Linked DNA regions of Homo sapiens: region 2 is linked to region 1. The links are contacts of gene promoters, found by promoter capture Hi-C in human tissues and cell types (Jung and others, 2019). All regions are on one chromosome and are shown on one strand. The core of a region is centred on a gene start or on the middle of the fragment in contact, and the rest is flanking DNA. Distances in the headings are between cores, read along the strand shown.

Evidence for each region. The method cuts DNA at HindIII sites, captures the fragments that hold promoters and counts their contacts. A contact is called where the count stands out against the background at its distance.
Region 2: a fragment that was not itself captured here is called in contact with the fragment with the promoter of IFNA13 in region 1 in 1 of the 25 tissues and cell types used here (small bowel).

What each region holds. Positions count from the first base shown.
Region 1 is chr9:21,364,533-21,370,469 of GRCh38, reverse strand. IFNA13 (interferon alpha 13) reads left to right here and starts at 2,413. Exons shown (of 1, transcript NM_006900.4): 1 at 2,413-3,098. The coding sequence starts at 2,460. The coding sequence ends at 3,032. The HindIII fragment of the contact is 15,253 bases long and covers 1-5,937 here.
Region 2 is chr9:21,325,685-21,332,050 of GRCh38, reverse strand. It overlaps KLHL9 (kelch like family member 9), which reads left to right. Exons shown (of 1, transcript NM_018847.4): 1 at 1-2,386. The region is part of intron 2 of LOC107987053 (a long non-coding RNA gene); the gene reads right to left. Among named protein-coding and RNA genes, the nearest start is that of KLHL9, 6.5 kb to the left of the region's middle. The HindIII fragment of the contact is 7,144 bases long and covers 1-5,829 here.

The DNA.
Region 1 (5,937 bases), core at 1,164-3,663:
TAAATGGGGCTAGGTACATGGTAGACGTTCAGTAAATATGAAAAATGGATATTCTTTATTGATTAAGTAAGCATTGATTATGCAAGTGCTAAAAACAGTGTCTGACTGAAAATAAATAAAGACTTTCCACAATTTAGATATTTCATTCCTTCTTTTTTTAAGACGGAATTTCAATCTTGTTGCCTGGGCTGGGGTGCAAGTGGAGTGCAAAGGCATGATCTCAGCTCACTGCAACCTCCACCTCCTGGGTTTAAGCAATTCTTCTGCTTCAGCTGGGATTACAGGCATGTGCCACCACACCAGACTAATTTTGTATTTTTAGTAGAGACGGTGTTTCAAAATGTTAGTCAGGCTAGTCTCAAACTCCTGACCTCAGGTGATCTGCCCAGCTCGGCCTCCCAAAGTGCTGGGATTACAGGCGTAAGCCACCGCACCCGGCCTGATATTTCATTTCTCTTATTAACATTATCTTTATTATATAACTCTATTAAAAGTTAGGGAAGTGTCCTCTGAAATTATCAATTCTCTTGTTTCTTACTAGAAATATAAGAAGAAAAAAACTGACCTTCTAAGTTTACTTATCCAATAGTGGAGAGCTTGGTGCAATGAACACTGACCCATTTTCCAGAGAGAATATTGTACTCTCAAAAATTTCTCTTTCTTGTGTATAAACTCTTGCAGTTGGTATATTTGCAAGATGGGGTTCGGTAAATCTGAAAACACACTGTGGACCAGGAGTAATTACTTTTCTTCCAGCCCATACTTACGTGTTACCTTGACCTACATCCCTTCTACTATTTTGCTTCTGTTCTTTCCCACCCCTTAACCTCCACTATGTTGGTCAGGCTGGTCTCAAACTCCCAACCTCAGATGATCCGTCTGCCTCGGCCTCTCAAAGTGCTGGCATTACACATGTGAGCCACGACGCCCGGCCACTTGTGTTATCTTTTTGTTCCCATTAGTTAGGATGCAAAAAGTGACAACTTTTGCTTTCTATGAAAATGAAATGAGAAAGAAAGATATCTGGTGTCTGGCATGCTATGTAAAACAATTGTCTACTTATTTATGTTATTATATTTACATCCTATTATGCGCATCTAGGACAAAGATAGTTTCCTTTAGTTTGCTAGGAATCAGCAAAGAACCTCTGAAGGCACCTTGGAAATTTGAACTTTCATGCAAAAAATTTTTAATCAAATCGAGGATGTTTTTTCAATTGTGTATTCTCATTGCATATGATACTACTCCCAAGGATGTAGAAGTTAGTTCTTGGGAGTGGGAACAAATCTTACATATTTAAATGGTTTGTGGCCCTTCAAAGCTCAACCTATTTAACAAAATCTTATTCCTTAGTTTTTTTTTTTTTCTCTCCATTGGGTTTTCTTGTGTATCACATGAGAAGCACTGACATTGAGTTCATGGAAGATACACAAAAGGTATAAAAGTTCAGCATTACAAACCTATGGCAAATGGGTAGCTGTGATTGGAGTACTTTCCAAGATGTATTAGATCTCAAAGTCATATCATGAGAGGTGTCCTCTGCATACATATGGTTTGTCACTGGCCATCTTATAGATATTGCTTATGTTTGATCCTTAGCATTTCTGTCTGTGTTGTGGGCTTTGAAATGAAATATAAATAATTTATATTTTAACAATTCTACTGAAGTTGTTCAACACATCTATATTTAGGTCAAGAATTGAAGAAAAAATTCTTCACACTCTCTAGGTGAGTATCTAGCAGCTAGTGAAGTTAAAAATTTTCTCACATGCAACAAAATTAAAAGTTAAGTATAATAAAAATAAATGATAAAAATATTTTAAATTATTAAGTCTTTATCAGTTTCAAATAATTCATAAACATTCATTACTTAGCTGTATAATGTTTATCTAGAAACATTAGATAATGTTTATAATTTGTTAAATTTCTTATGTAATTTAATACATTACAATTTATATCAGTAAATAAACTATATTGAAGCCCACAAGCAAATTTAGTTATAAAGTTAAGTTAAATTTGAATAGCGTTTAAATTTAACTTTTATCTTAAAATTTTCATTTGGTTATTTTTAAACTTGCATTGAATAAAATGATTAAACTTTGTACTTTTTGAGTATAGAGATATACATATAGTACACAAATAGATAGATATTATATCTGTGTTATTAAATTTTCACGGTGGGTTCAATTAGGAAAAAAAATCTAAAAAGTCTCTGGGAACAAGATGGGGGAGACAATAATGAAAAACAAAATGGTTGAGAAACACGGCTCTAAACTCATGTAAAGAGTTCAAGAAGGAAAGCAAAAACAGAAATGGAAAGTGGTCCAGAAGCATTAAGAAAGTGGAAATCAGTATGTTCCCTATTTAAGGCATCTGCAGGAAGCAAAGCCTTCAGAGAACCTAGAGCCCAAGGTTCAGAGTCACCCATCTCAGCAAGCCCAGAAGCATCTGCAATATCTATGATGGCCTCGCCCTTTGCTTTACTGATGGCCCTGGTGGTGCTCAGCTGCAAGTCAAGCTGCTCTCTGGGCTGTGATCTCCCTGAGACCCACAGCCTGGATAACAGGAGGACCTTGATGCTCCTGGCACAAATGAGCAGAATCTCTCCTTCCTCCTGTCTGATGGACAGACATGACTTTGGATTTCCCCAGGAGGAGTTTGATGGCAACCAGTTCCAGAAGGCTCCAGCCATCTCTGTCCTCCATGAGCTGATCCAGCAGATCTTCAACCTCTTTACCACAAAAGATTCATCTGCTGCTTGGGATGAGGACCTCCTAGACAAATTCTGCACCGAACTCTACCAGCAGCTGAATGACTTGGAAGCCTGTGTGATGCAGGAGGAGAGGGTGGGAGAAACTCCCCTGATGAATGCGGACTCCATCTTGGCTGTGAAGAAATACTTCCGAAGAATCACTCTCTATCTGACAGAGAAGAAATACAGCCCTTGTGCCTGGGAGGTTGTCAGAGCAGAAATCATGAGATCCCTCTCTTTATCAACAAACTTGCAAGAAAGATTAAGGAGGAAGGAATAACACCTGGTCCAACATGAAACAATTCTTATTGACTCATATACCAGGTCACGCTTTCATGAATTCTGCCATTTCAAAGACTCTCACTTCTGCTATAACTATGACCATGCTGATAAACTGATTTATCTATTTAAATATTTATTTAGCTATTCATAAGATTTAAATTATTTTTGTTCATATAACATCATGTGCATCTTTACACTGTGGTTAGTGTAATAAAACATGTTCCTTATATCTACTCAATTCATTATTTTATGTTGTTCATTAAACTTTTACTATAGGAACTTCCTGTATGTGTTCATTCTTTAATACAAAATTCCTAGCCTGACTGTGCAACCTGATGAGAGAATAAAGGGTATAATTTATTTACTCATCATTATTATATGAGAGATGTAAGTAAAAATGACCTTTCTCTAAACCAGGTTGTATGTTGTACTCAAGTTATAAAGGTGAATACAATAAATCTACTTCCTACTCTCTTGCATGTTTGATTTTTGTATGGAATAAAACTAAAAATAGTAATCATACTTAGTATCAGTTATCCTGAATACTATAAGGAGAAAAAGGAATGAACAATGATTTCTTTCGGCAGGAGGTAAACTGAAACATGTGAGGAAATAAAAATAAACAGATATCCTCTATAAGTTGACTGATACAACATGTGGTAGAAACTGTCTATTGCCAGTTGGATATGTGAGTTTGCAAATTATAAGGAATGCAATTGCTGGGAGTTCATATGTGGCAAGCAAAATCCCAGAAATGAAAGTGCTCATGTGTGGAGAGAGTGTAGACAGAGAAAAGGACTTAAACGTGATTCTAAGGACCTTCCACCTTTAAAGGGAAGGAAGAGAAGAGCCACAAAGGAAACAGAGGGATGGACAAATAGAGACAATGGTGATTAATATGGTCTGGAACTGTGTCTCTGCCTAAATCTCAGGCAGACCAGCCTCTAGAATGTATGTGTGTGTGTGTGTGTGTGTGTATGTGTGTGTGTGTGTATATATATACGTACATATATATATATACGTATATATATGTATATATATACACACACACACACATACACACACACACTATATATATATTTTATATATAGTGTATATATATAAAACATATGTATATATGCTTATTTTCTTATTTTATAAATATATGGTTATTATTTTCTTAATTAGTGCATATATATCAGAAAAGGGACTGGGTGCAGTGGCTCATGTTTGTAATCTCAGCACTTTGGAAGCCAAGGTGGGTGGATCACTTGAGTTCAGGGGTTCAAGACCAGCCTGGACAATATGGTGAAACCCTGTCTCTACTAAAAACCAAAAATTTGGCCAGGCATGGTGTTGGGTAGCTGTGATCCCATCTATTCGGGAGGCTGAGGCAGGAGAATCACTTGAACCCCGGAGGCAGAGATGGCGCCTCTGCACTACAGCCCCTGGGCAATAGAACAATACTCCGTCCCCAAAAAAAAAAAAAAAAAAAAAGAAAAGAAAAGAAAAAAAAGAAAATGAGAAAACAGAAAAGGGAATGTTCTCTTCTCTCCTCAATCTCCATAACACATAAGAATCTAAAACGCAGAATTCTTGGAGTATTCTGGAGAAAACTGAAAAATAGTCACCCTTCGTACTGAAGATAAGTCTGATGTGTATATTCAGTCAGGATACGGTATCTTACAGGAAAATCTGGAAGAGTTTATTTTCTTAAACCTAAGTGAAATATACATACCATTCATTTGCTGATTCCGATACCCAGCACAGTTCTTTCCTTCTTCCCCAGCTTTTCTGGATCTCATTTTCACTCCTATTGAGGCTCAAAAATAATACCCCAAAGTGAAGTTCTCAGAAGCAGCTTCAGAAGCAAAGTTTCTCTCTGGCCTTCTCCTGCCCTGCTGTTTGTCACGCCTCATCTCCTGAGGGAGACCCTTTTCCCCAAAGCCAGCCATAAAATCTGAAAATATGACTCTAACTTTCCCTCACCTTTGTGTGTAAGAACTGAACTGGCCATAAAGAAATTCTCTCACCTGCCTTGTTTGATTGTAGATACTAAGACCCCCATTCCAAAAAGAGCTCTGCCACATACCCAAGAGGAAGGAATGGTGTATGGAGGGGCCAAGAAGTATCTGACCAGAAAGGCCTTGTTGGGTTTCCCCTACTCAGAATATTAGCATTAGATGATGCCCTTTTTGTCTAATCACATTTCTACACAGCTGGCCATTCTTCATGGAACATAAGCATAAAAATGGATAGTTTTTTCCTGTACTTTGGGTCTTCATTTTGAAGGCTTCCGTAGTTATATAAACCTGTGATTAAATAAATGTGTTATGCTTCTCTCTTGTTAAGCTGTCTTTTGTTTTAGGCGTGTGAGCTGTGACCCTTTTGATAGGAAGGAAAGAGATCACACTATTTCTACCCCTATAGTTGTGGTGATGAAGATGGGATGCCTGAAGCACCTGACTCACCTACTGATGAGGTCCAGGTAAAATGCTGATAAAGAGCTTGCCAGTAAAGGTAAGAATTTTTACCAAGTTCAGTTCTGAATTTCTGCTTGTAGTGTCTGGTCAAGAACTAAAGGTAAAAATTTATCTTTATTTCTTCCTTTCCAAATGCAGGTCATCAGGAGAAGATCATTTGTTTGAATTGTTCTCTTGTGTAAATTTGGATTTATGGGACCCATGTGTTATTGATCCTTTCCCTTCAATAGACAGCTGTCGTTTTGCTGTTTTGTGTCCTGAGAACCTGACTTGGCTTGCTGCCTATCAGGATGCCCTTCGGTGTGTGCAGGAGGCCAAACCAAAAGTTGGAGGCGCCCATTAAAAGTTTACATATTGACTATTGCCAGCTCTCGAGGTGTCTAAATATTTCTTTCTTGCGGCGATCTTTAGAGGTGGCTCTGAATTTTGAGAGGACTGCAT
Region 2 (6,366 bases), core at 1,008-3,507, 38 kb after region 1:
TCTTTTTTCCACCTTTTTGGTCAGTAAAACTTAATGAAAAAAGCAAAGAAAAAAATATTCTGAACAAAGCTATAGGGTTTTAAGTTCAGCCTCCCAACTTAGTCATCCTAACATGATTATTTTGTGATTTGGGGTGCTTGCCCTGGTGCTGTTCCAGTCCATGTGCATCCTGAGCTGTGTGATCTGCCTCGAGGCTATGATCTGAGCAAGCAGGAGATAACATTTTCTTCTGCATCAAGTGAGGAAAAATGTGCTTTTGGCCATGTCTCAAAGACAGGACCAACTTCAGATTCCCAAAGAAGCCAGCTACAGAGCCTCTGGAACACTATGGTCTTACAAGCAGTACTAAAATCAACCCTCAGCCTCTTCAATGCCAAAGGTATCCCTATTGGTTGAGAACCACATGGTAATTTTTAATGGGACTTTTATCAGCAAATGGAGTTACAGGAATTCTCTGTAATGAGTGATTCTGAAGAGGTACTTTCCTGGAATAATTGTCTACCTGAAGAAAAAAAATTTATATATACATTGTGTGTGTGTGTAATACACACACACAACCCCCTATACCTGGAAGATTGTCAGCATGTAAATCAGGAACAACTTTCTCCTTATTGACAATCCCATAATAAAACTCAGGAACCAAGGCAAAATGAATTGGCTTCTAGGGGTCTGAACCTTACTGCCCATACAAGTGTTGATTCATTTTAATGCTGTTTATGATTTCTGCATTGGCAGAAATTTTCATACTTTCTATGTTTTTTTAATTACTCAGTTTTTTATTACTAAAAATAGCACATTTGAGTACATTTGAAAAGTAGAAAAATTAGAAATTATTAACTTTATTGAATAAGCAAGAAGTGCATCCTAATCCTTTGATTATTAATGAGGTTGAATATTTGTGTGCTATCGGTAGCTGTGTTTCTTTGATCAGATGTTCCTGTCCTTTTGCCCTTCTGTTATCTGTTGGAGTTGCTTTGTTTTTCGTATCAAGTTATAGGATCTCTTTATATAATAAATGTAATTTAACTTGCATTTGCTTGCATTTATTTCTTCCCTCAATCTGTTGTAGTTTTACAAAGGCAACGCTGTTCAGTTAATTTTTGAGATCAAATTTGTCTTTTTTTTTTTTTGAGACAGGGTCTCACTGTTGTGCAGTCTGGAGTGCAATGGCACGATGTGTGCTCACTGAAACCTCTGCCTCTCATGTTCAGGCGATTCTCCCACCTCAGCCTCCCGATTAGCTGGGATTACAGGCATGTACCACCAAGCCCGGCTAATTTTGTATTTTTAGTAGAGATGGGGTTAGGGGATAATTTTGATATGGTTTATTTTTTATGTAGTATTTCAGTGCTTATTCTGACATATCAAGGTGATACTGCCCTGCCTCTATTTTGTACAGGCTTTTCCTTTTATTGAAAAAAAGTACTTTTTATTACATCTTATGTCTGAACCTGGTGCTTCCTATTGAAATAAGTATTGCTTTACTAGGTAAACTGCTCTATCTACATCCCCCACCTCCAGCTTCACCCACCCTGCCTCTCATTTTTTTACTTTCCCGTATTCTGCAGTTGACAGTTCTCTTGGTAATCATACAGGTAGCTGACTAATGCTATGCTAATACAGGTTGAGCAGCCCTAATCCAAAAATCCAAATTGCTCCAAAATTTAAAACTTTTTGAGGGCCAACAGGATGCCACAAGTAGAAAATTCCACACCAGAGCTCATGTGACAGGTTACACTCAAAACACAGTGAAGACTTGTTTCATGCACAACATTATTAAGACTATTATAATTACCTTCAGACTACGTGTCTGAAACGTGAAATATAACCGAAGTTTTAAGTAATATTGTTTAGACTTGGGTCCCTCCCCCAGGATACGTCATGTACATGCAAATATTCCAAAATCCAAAACACTTCTGGTCCCAAGCATTTCAGATAAGGGATATTCAATCTGTACTGCTCATTAAACCTGGAGTTTCTTATAGAGAGAAATTTTAGGTGGTTGAAATGATTAAATGGAAAGAGATTTATTTTCATAAGCTGGTAATTTTTTAAAGAAAGTTCAGACTGGAAAAATATTTAGAGGATAAAAACTAAAAGCACATAAAGCATTATGTTAACATTTCTTGTTTTAGTTTTTCGGAAAGTATTCAAAAATTAACATTTGTTAGCTTTTTTGATATGTCTATTATAGAACGTACAGGAAAATAAAAGCAAACTAATTTATCAGTGATTCCACATGTTGAAGATAATTTCTATTAATAGTATATTATATATATATATATACGTACATATGTGCAGGCATTTGTCAAATATTTTTCAAGTATGCCAGACCTTAGGCTAAAAGCTGGATAATGAAAATAAATCCACCTTCCAAAGACTCCTATTATCATGACTTTCTCTTATTTTTTAAAAAGCTGTATATATTAAAAAATCATAAGGTGTTTTTTTCTAATTATCAAATGCACATGTATTTAGAAAAACAGATTCCATTTTTATTCAGATAAATCCAGACTTAAATTTCTTTCCCACTTGCTTACAGTAATATTTATGTAGTTGGCCTGCAAAGCAAACACATTTCACTCATGTTCAGATTTTTGTAATCAAAATTATTTTGTTCTCACTATAAAGGCAGTAAGCTCCTACAGGACATTTTAAAACTACATAAATGTGCCATCCCCAGCTCAACCGATTATAAACAACTGCCGAAAGATTGTGGGGTAAGTTTAACTCTCTAAAACTTCAGCTTTGTCATACATCTATCAGGTTGGGTGTGATCATTAATAATTCTATTTATATCAGATTTGTAAGGAAATAATATAAAGCGATTAGCATAAGATATGCACAAAAGCAGTGAATGATAGTTGTTACTAACAAAGTTGGGATTTTATAATTTTTGACTTTTGCTTCAGCTTAATGATTTTCAGGCTATTGTTCTTTGAAAGTGTTCAGCGTCTATACAATATTTCATTCCATGAACATGCCAAATTATTCCATTTCCTTATGTGTAGATATTTAAATGTCTACCATAAATTTTCACCATAATAAAGCAAGATGTAATATTCTTACATAAAACTTTGCCCATAGCTACTACCCTATGATAAATGCTAAGTAAAATCGGAATCATGTAGTGTTAGCTTTTTTAGGGTCTTAAAAAATATTTCCAGGATTATACCATATGCATTTTTAGCAGAACTGTGTTCAGTAACTATTTCAAAGGAAATCTTTGCAGTTCTAGTTATTTCACTGTTTGGATTTACATATCTTTAATTACTAGTTATAATTTCTTGTTTATTGAGCATGTGTATTTTTCATAAATCATTTGCTCCTGTCTTTTGCTTTAATTGTCCTATTTGCTATAAATACTTTTTTATACTCTACTTTTTTATTCAATTTAATATGATCAAGTATGTTCGTCTTTTTTGTATGTTGACCTTTCGGTGATATTTTTGTTTTTTTTAATTTGGGGTGTGTGTGTGTGTGGTGGTGGTGGTGGTTGTTATATAGTACTGATGTGGTATTACTTGTTCTTGATACTATAGCTCTATAGCTTTGTGATTACTAGTTCTTGACATGTTAGGGTGGCATTTACTGCTTGTCTCCTGTTCAAGTAGCTTTTCTTTCTAGTTAAAATGAGAATGAGATTTTCCTTAAAATTAATAAACTTACCTTTTTATATTGAGATTAATCATTCATTTTTTTTTGAGATGGGGTCTCGCTATGTTGACCAGGCTGTTCTTGAACTCCTGGTCTCCAGTGATCCTCCTATTTCAGCCTCCCAAAGGGCTAGAATTACAGGTGTGAGCCACTGCAACTGGCTATATTAAGATTAATCTTTATTCTCTATTTACAGCAAGTATTTGCCCACTTGTGTTCTGTGAGCAAAGAAATCAAGTGTTTTTCCTTTGTAACGTAGCACAATTAGTTTTTTTGTCATTTTAATGCTTTCTTGAATAATTTTTTTATCATTAGGTGGCATAATTATCCCAGTATTTTATGTTGTTATTATTGATACAACTTTCTACCAAACTTTTGGCATAAAATCTAATGTATTTTTCAAATTACCTAATTTTTCCATAACCACTTTTTGAATATCTTCATTTCCTTGCTGAATTTTTATGCTTTAAAAAAAATCATAAAATCTTATAGTCAATCAATTTAGAGTATTTTTCTTCACTTCCAATGATCTTTTTTCAAGTTAAGTTGTCTTTGATATATACGTGTGTGTGTGTGTGTGTTTGTGTATTTCTGCTTTGAATGGGATTTCGTTATGTTATATTCTGAACTCTTGGTAGAAGTAGGAAATATGTGGTTTTAGCATAATGGTTTTCTGTCTACCGACTCTCATTGATTCTTCAGTTTTTTGGGTCAATTCTCATATTTTCACCTTAACTAACCATTATCTGCATATTATAAAAGCCAATTTCATATTATTAGTTTAATGTGAAACATTAAAGCATGGTTCATACTTCCAGCAAAATTATAGTAGTGACCGAGGAATTGTGTCTTATGCGTAATTTTAATAGGGGTAATTCTAGTTTTAGGATTCCTTTGTTACAAGGAAATATCCTTGATCTTGTTCACGAAGTTCCTCATTAATTAGGAGTCTTAAAAAATTAGGGTTGTGTATCTTCATTACAAATGATTTCTGTACCAGCTGATCCAAATTTTTCTTAGTACCATCCATGGGCTGAAAGAAAGGCTATTTCTTCGCTGTGTGATCAGTGTGTCATTAACTACCCATTTCTTCATTTATTTAGTCAAATTTATTGAGATGATAATTTAATTTTTCTCATGTCAAATACTGAAAAAGAGTCTGTTTTTTAATTGTTTTCAACTGTTGGGTTAGAAAGGACTCTTACATATTGCTGAGTGCATTGTCAATTGGTTTACAGTTTAGAATGCAATTTGGCAAAAGTAGTAAAATGATCTTTCAAGTTTCATACCTTTTGGACAGTAAGTATATTTCTAGAATTAATAAGTGACAGAAAATAGGCCAGAAATAGTCATCTCAGCATGATACTATTATTTGCTTCCTAATAGGACCACATTAGACCTTCCATTAAAATACTTTTAAATGGATTTTTAAAGATTCTTCCCACCTTAATTTTGATACTTTATCTGCATCCTCTAGTATTCAATTGTTGAGCATATATTTGAATGGCTGGATGATGATTAGAATAAAAGACTTAGATATTCATTAAGGATGACTGAACACATAACTGTTGAATTGTGTACCTGAGCCAAATGCACTAGTACACAGAATAGGTCGTTCCTCTGTAACAGTCTCAGAGCAACTGCTTTCCAGGGGCTAATGTTATTCTGCCATCTACTGGTTAAAATTAAAAGTCTTTGTTTAGCTAGATTACAGAAAATATATCTCCTTTATCAAAACAACAGTAATAACAAAACCCAGAAATTTTTATAGCACATGTGAAAGTTCAAAGTTGGCAGCTTATATAAATTACATAAGTGAATATTAAAAACTTTTGGTAATTTTTGGGGTACGGTAGATCAAAGAGAAGAATTATTTTTTATATTACTTAAAAATACAGATTTAAATAGCTATGACCTTTATTTTATTTATAAATTCATATACATTTAATTTTAAAATCTGCAACATTTCATCTGGATTCTAAGCATTCATACCCAATACTTGCTTTTTCCTTTGAGTGGATTCCCCATACCATTTTTATTTTTAGTTTTTAGCAGACAGCCTCATCACAAAGACATGTATAGAGTAAATCTTTTCCACAGCAGAAAGGACGTAATATGCATTATATCTGGTTATAAGTAAATATGACAACCTCATAATATTTAAGAAATTTTTATATTGGTTTGCTCATTTGGGTATGAGGATCAAATCATGACTGCTATAGCCACATAATTTTCACCCGGCCAGCCAGACACACATATGCATAAGCATATACATGTGTTTGATGTAAAACAGCTTTTGGACCAGCTGATCCAGATTTTTCTTAGTGCCACCCATGGGCTCAAAGAAAGTCTATTTCTTGACTATGTGAACAGTAAGAATGGCATCAACTACCCATTTCCTCATTCTCCATGTTATTGTCTCAGAACAAAATATTCTCTTACACCAAGCATTTTTTCCCTCAAGATGGATGTGTATAACAACAAGTGATCTCTTAATAGTGCCTCCTGAAGGATATCAAGAGTGCACATATCTTTTCTACATAGAACTGAAGGAGCAAGATTAGATTTCGTGCAATCTTAGAACAAGATGTGTATAAAGCTGTTGACAGCAACTAAGTAACCCAAACTTCAGAAGTTTCGTTGTCTAGAGCCCCTTCTCCAATTGTAAGTCCAAAGAGTATGTCTAGCTCTTTACTGGTCCATCTTCCA